Regions from separate parts of the Homo sapiens genome. Here region 2 is linked to region 1. The links are contacts of gene promoters, found by promoter capture Hi-C in human tissues and cell types (Jung and others, 2019). All regions are on one chromosome and are shown on one strand. The core of a region is centred on a gene start or on the middle of the fragment in contact, and the rest is flanking DNA. Distances in the headings are between cores, read along the strand shown.

Region 1 (3,697 bases), core at 140-2,639:
ACCAAGCTCCTGTCACACTGGCCTCCCTTTCCTTGAACAAGCCAAGCCCATTGCAGCCTCCAGAACTTCGCACCTGCTGTCGCCTCCCTTCAGAACGCGTTTCTTTCAGGGATTCCCGTTGCTGGCTTTTACTTATCCTCAGGACTCCATCAGATATGACCTCCTCAGCCCAAATGTCACTTTCTCTGTCCCCCTCATCTAAATGACTTACTCCATTCCTACCCCAATCACCCATTTTCATTTTCTTTTTTTTTTTTTGACACGGAGTCTCGCTGTCGCCCAGGCTGGAGTGCAGGGGCGCCATCTTGGCTCACTGCAGGCTCTGCCCCCTGGGGTTCACGCCATTCTCTTGCCTCACTCTCCTGAGTAGCTGGGGCTACAGGCGCCCGCCACCTCGCCCGGCTAACATTTTGTATTTTTAGTGGAGACGGGGTTTCACCGTGTTAGCCAGGATGGTGTCGATCTCCTGACCTCGTGATCCACCCACCTCAGCCTCCCAAAGTGCTGGGATTACAGGCGTGAGCCACCGTGCCCGCCCCATTTTCTTTTCTGTTTTGTTTGTTTGTTTGTTTGTTTTTGAGACAGTCTTGCTCTGTGGCCCAGGCAGGAGTGCAGTGGCATGATCTCGGCTCACTGCAACCTCTGCCTCCCTGCCTCCTGGGTTCAAATGATTCTCCTCCCTCAGGCTCACAGTAGCTAGGATTACCGGTGCTGGGATTATAGGTGCCCACCACCACGCCTGCTAATTTTTGTAGTTTTAGTAGAGATAAGGTTTCACCATGTTTCAAACTTCTGACCTCAATTGATCCTCCCACCTTGGCCTCCCAAAGCGCTGGGATCACAGGTGTGAGCCACCGCTCCTGGCCTAGACTCAAACTCTAGAAGGGCTGAGACCATGTATTTTTCACAGCTGTATCCCCTAGAACAGTGCCTGATACATAGAGAAAAAGTGCTCAACAAAAAATTTTTTGTGGAGGTGGGTACTAATATAAATCTCATGTTAGAGAGCAGAAAACTGAGACTCAGAGAGGTTAAGCCATGCGCCCAAAGTCGCAGAGCTTGGAGGTGGCAGAACCAGGATTGAACCGTGGTCTGCCCGGTTCCAGTGCCCCTGTTCTTTCCGAAAGAGGAGGTCTTGTCCTGACATGAGCTTTTCTTCCTGAACTCTTGTTATCAGTTGGCCACTCCACACCACCTGTGCGGCCACCTGTTGGAGGGAACGCTAGGTCCTTCCTTTGGCTGTCACTCCTCCATCTGCAGTGAGTGAGAACTGTGGCCTTGGACCATGGGAGACCTGCATTTCCACCACCTGTTCTGGGAGTGGGGCCCAGTCAGCCCCCTTTGCTTACCTTCTGCCCTATATTAGAGCCCCAGGTTCTGTGCCCTTTTCCTATCATCGCAAAACTCATGATGCTCCGGCTGCTCAGTTCCCTCCTCCTTGTGGCCGTTGGTAAGACCCCAACCTGTGTGTGTGCTCCCTGGGCTGCCCTAGATTAGGAATCCTTGAAATCTACCACTTGCTCTAAGTCCCATGACACCCTATGCCTGGTTCCACAGGAGGGGGTCTCAGCTTGTACCCGGGGGCATGACTGTGGGGGCTTTCAGCTTATGATGGAGCAGGAGAGTGGAGGGGAAGCCGTGGATGGAGAAAGACCCCAAAGGGCTGTGGTGGAAGTCCTTGATGGGGGCAGTAAACAAAGTCAAACGGTTAAGAGTTTGGGCTGTGTGGTTGGACTTCTTGGGTTGGAATTTCCACTGTTCTGCTTACCACTCCAACTCTCCTCTCACACTCCCCCTACCTGGCTCCATATTCTATGCTCTGGCCTTTTCCTGGTCTCTCTGCCATATTACATTCCAGCTCAGGGCCACCTCTTCCAAGCAGCCTCCCTTGACTGACAATAATGGTAACAGATAACATTGATTGAGTGCTTACTATGCCAGGCAGAATGTTTAGGGTTTTCCTTATACTTTCTCATGTAATTCTCACAACAGCCTCAGGAGATCAGTACTATCATTTTCCCCATTTTACCGACCCTCAAGGAAGTAAAGTAGCTTATCATAGAACAAAAGGCAGAGCTGCACTTAATGTTTTTATTTTTTGCTTTTTTTTTTGTTGAGATGGGGTCTTGCTTTGTTGCCCAGACTGGTCTCAAAATCTTGGCCTCAAGCAATCCTACCACCTTAGCCTCCTGAGTAGCTGAGATTATAGGCACATGCCACCATACCTGGCTACTTTATTTTATTGTACTTTATTTTTCTAGAGATGAGGTCTTGCTATGTTGCCCAGGCTGGTCTCAAACTCCCGGGCTCAAGCGATCCTCCCGCCTCGGCCTCTCAAAGCACTAGGATTACAGGTGTGAACCACCACACACAGCCCAGAGCTGCACTTTGAACCCAGGAAGTCCTTCTTTAAAGCCTCCACTCTGTATGACAATAGCTCTCACTTTTTGAGGGCTCATTGAGGGCCAGGCATTGTTCTAAGTGTATCAAGCTCTTCAATCCTCCCAATGAAGGAGGCCACATTTGAATCTCTATCCCTGGAGTCTTGGGATTCTGGAAAGCCCTGCTCTAGTTTAAATGTTCACTATTCATATGTGGTTACTGAGGTCCAGAGGGCGAAAGGGGCTTGCATGGGGTCACACAGCCACTTGAAGGCACGGCTTGGACTGGGACCCTGGCCTCCTCTTTGCTTTTGGGGACCCTCCCGCTGATTGACAGCTCTCCTCTCCCCTCTAGCCTCAGGCTATGGCCCACCTTCCTCTCGCCCTTCCAGCCGCGTTGTCAATGGTGAGGATGCGGTCCCCTACAGCTGGCCCTGGCAGGTAAGAGCAATAGCAGCTGCCCTCATTCCCACCGTGGGCTCTGGACCCTAAGCTCTAATGGCGCGGCATCCAGCCTTGACACCATTGCTCCCTTTGCAATGTCCACTTCAGCTTCCAAAGACCAGGCAGCCCTTGGACCATCTACTTCACGGGGAGGTTTTGCCCATTCCGTCTGTAACCCTCACTGGGCTATTTGCAACTTAAAAGTGGAATCGGGGGTGAAGGAAATGCTAAACTCAAGGAGTTGGCACACTGATGGTGGAATTTCAGGCACTGTGTTGAAGAAGTGAGATTTTGAGAGACTCATTTCTAGATTCCTAGGATGATACAACAGGGCTATGGGGTCTGAAAGCAATAAGGGAGTGAGGGATCTTGTAAGGCCAGTGGAGGGAAGCTCAGAAGGCTGGACTTGATGTGCTGTGGCTATTTAAATTTAATTAAATTAGGCCGGGCACGGTGGCTCACGCCTGTAATCCCAGCTACCCAGGAGGCTGAGGCAGGAGAATCCCTTGGACCCAGGAGGTGGAGGTTGCAGTGAGATGAGATCGCACCACTGCACTCCAGCCCTGGGCAACAGAGTGAGACTCTGTCTCAAAAAAAAATTAAATTAAATTATTATGACTATTATTATTATTGAGACAGAGTTTCACTCTTGTTGCCCAGGCTGAAGTGCAATGGCACAATCTTGGCTCACTGCAACCTCTGCCACCCGGGTTCAAGCGATTCTCCTACCTCAGCCTCCCAAGTAGCTGGGATTACAGGCATGCGCCACCAAGCCCGGCTAATTCTGTATTTTTAGTAGAGACAGGGTTTCACTATGTTGGCCAGGCCAGTCTGGAACTTGTGACCTCAGCTGATGCACCTGCCTCAGCCTG
Region 2 (3,192 bases), core at 158-2,657, 290 kb before region 1:
AGACTCCATCTCAAAAAAATAAAAAATAAAAAATAAAAGCCAAACATAATATTTGTACATATTTATGGGGAACAGCTTATATTTTGATACATGCATACAGTGTATAATGATCACATCAGGGTATTTAGTTATCTCCATCACCTTGAATATTTATTATTTCTTCTTTTTTGAGACAGGGTCTCAATCTGTCACCCAGGCTTGAGTGTAGTGGCATGATGACAGCTCACTGCAGCCTCCAACTCCCCGGCTCAAGCAATCCACCCACCTCAGCCTCCCAAGTATCTGAGACCACAGGTGCGAGCCACCATGCCTGGCTCTTTTTTTAAAATTTGTAGTAGAGACAGGGTCTCACTATGTTGCCCAGGTTGGTCCTGAACTCTTGGGTTCAAGTGATCCACTGCGCCCGGCCTATCATTTCTTTGTGTTGGGAACATTGCATTATCTTTTCTTCTAGCTCTTTTGAAATATACAACATATCACCCTACTGTACTACTGAATACCAGAACTTATTCTTTCTATCAAATTGTATGTTTGTACCCATTAACCAACCTCCCTTCATATGGCCCCTTTCCCATCCACTCATAACTACCATTCTACAGCCAAAAGATCAGCTTTTTTAGCTCCTACGTATGAGTGAGAAAATACAGTATTGTCTTTCTGAGCCTGGCTTATTTCACTTAACATAATGTCCTCCAGTTCCACCCATGTTGCTGCAAATGACAGGATTTCATTTTTTTAATGGCTGAATAATAGTATCCCATTGTATGTCTACATATAAATATAACATATCAAGGCATCTACTGATGGACATGTAGGTTGATTCCATACCTTGGCTGTTGTGAACAGTGCTGCAATAAACATGAGAGTGCAAATATCCTTTCGATACACTGATTTCTTTTCCTTTGGATAAATACCACTAGTGGGATTGCTGGATCATATGGTAGTTATATTTTTAGTTTTCTGAGAAACTTCCATACTGTTTTCCATAATGGCTGTACTAATTTACATTCCCACCAAAAGTCCGTATAAGAGTTCCCTTTTCTCTGCATCCTAGTTACATGTTATTGTCTTTTTGATAATAGCCATGCTAACTGATAAGATGGTATCTCACTGTGATTTTGATTTGCATTTCCCTGATGATTAGTGATGCTGAGCATCTTTCATACACCTATTGGCCATGTTTATGTCTTCTTTTGAGAAATGTCTGTTCAGGTCCGTTGCCTACTGTTTAATGAGATTATATTTTCTCCCATTCTACAGGTTGTCTCTTCAACTCTGCAGATTATTTCCTTTGCTGTGCAGAAGCTTTTTAGTTTAATATAGTCCATTTGGTTATTTTTGGTTTTGTTCCCTGTGCTTTGAGGTCTCAGCTAAAATCTCTGTCTAGACCAATGTTTGACAGCATTTCCCCCATATTGAATTCTAGCAATTTCATAGTTTCAAGTCTTACATTTAAGTCTTTAATCCATTTTGAGTTGATTTTAATATATAGTGAGAGACAGAGGTCTAGTCTCATTTTTCTGCATATCGATATCCAGTTTTCCCAGCAAAATCTAGTGAAGAGGGTGCCCTTTCCCCAGTGTATGTTCTTGGTGCCTTTGTCATAAATTAGTTGGCTGTAAATACGTGAATTTATTTTTGGGTTCTTTATTCTGTTCCATTGTCCTATGTTTTATACCAATACCATGCTGTTTAGGTTACCATAGCTTTGTAGTATATTTTGAAACCAGGTAGCATGATGCCTCCAGCTTTGTTCTTTTTGCTGAGGATTGATTTGGCTATTCAGGGTCTTTTGTGGTTCCATATGAATTTTAGGATTGTGTTTTTCTATTTCTGTGAGGAATGTCATTGGTATTTTGATAGGAATTGCATTTAATCTGCAGGTTATTTTGGGTAATATGGTCATTTTAACAATATTAATTCTTCTGATCCATGAGCACAGGATATCTTTCCATTTGTTTGCATCTTTCAATTTCTTACATTAGTGTTTTGTAGTTTTCCTTGTAGAGGTCTTTCACCTTCTTGGTTAAATTTATTCCTAAGTATTTAATCTTATTTTTTTTTGTAGCTATTATTATTGGAATTGCTTTCTTTTCTTTTTTTTTTTTTTGAGATGGAGTCTGTCATCCAGGCTAGAGAGTGCAGTGCTGCGATCTTGGCTCACTGCATCCACTGGGTTCAAGCAATTCTCCTGCCTCAGCCTCCCTAGTAACTGGGATTACAGGCATGCGCTACTACGCCTGGTTAATTTTTGTAATTTTAGTAGAGATGGGGTTTCGCCATGTTGGCCAGGCTGGTCACAAACTCCTGACTTCAACTGCTCCACTTGCCTCACCCTCCCAAAGTGCTGGGATTACAGGCATGAGCCACTGCGCCCAGCCGCTTTCTTGATTTCTTTTTCAGCTAGTTCTTATTGATGTATAGTAATGCTGCTAATTTTTGTATGTTGATTTTTGTTAGGTAAACATGATAATCACTACACTACAGAAACTCACTTTGTACACTGATTTTTGTATCCTGCAATTTTACTGAATGTTCATCAGTTGTTTAAGAGTGTTTTGGTGGCGTCTTTAGGTTTTTCTACATATATAAGATCATGTCAGCCTGGCATGGTGGCTCATGCCTGTAATTCTAGCATTTTGGGAGGCCCAGGTGGCCAGATCACAGGGGGCCAGGAGTTCGGGACCAGCCTGGCCAATATGGGAAATCCTCATCTCTAGTAAAAATACAAAAATTAGCTGGGTGTCATGGCACATGCCTGTAGTCCCAGCTACTCAGGAGTCTGAGGCACAAGAATTGCTTGAACCCAGGAGTGGTGGCTGCAGTGAGCTGAGATGGTGCCACTGCACTCCAGTCTGGGCAACAAAGACTCTAAAAAAAAAGCATGTCATCTGCAAAGAGGGACCATTTGACTTCCTCTTTTCCAATTTTGCATGCTTTTTACTTATTTATCTTGCCTAATTGCTCTTGCTAGGACTTCCAATACTATGTTGAATAAGAGTGGTGAAAATGGCCGTCCTTGTCTATTCCAGTTCTTAGAGGAAAGGCTTTAAGCTTTTCGCCATTAGGTATGATGTCAGCTGTGGGTCTCACATATGGCCTTTATTATATTGAGGTATGTTCCTTCTGTACTTGGTTTTTTGAGAGTTTTTACCACGAAGGGATGTTGAATTTTATCAAATGCTTTTTCTT

Evidence for each region. Contacts are between HindIII fragments. The study calls those that stand out against the background at their distance.
Region 2: a fragment that was not itself captured here is called in contact with the fragment with the promoter of CELA3B in region 1 in 1 of the 25 tissues and cell types used here (dorsolateral prefrontal cortex).

What each region holds. Positions count from the first base shown.
Region 1 is chr1:21,975,633-21,979,329 of GRCh38, forward strand. It overlaps CELA3B (chymotrypsin like elastase 3B), which reads left to right and starts at 1,390. Exons shown (of 8, transcript NM_007352.4): 1 at 1,390-1,450; 2 at 2,737-2,822. The coding sequence starts at 1,408. The HindIII fragment of the contact is 22,565 bases long and covers 1-3,697 here.
Region 2 is chr1:21,683,234-21,686,425 of GRCh38, forward strand. The region is part of intron 25 of USP48 (ubiquitin specific peptidase 48); the gene reads right to left. Among named protein-coding and RNA genes, the nearest start is that of RAP1GAP, 15 kb to the left of the region's middle. The HindIII fragment of the contact is 4,086 bases long and covers 1-3,192 here.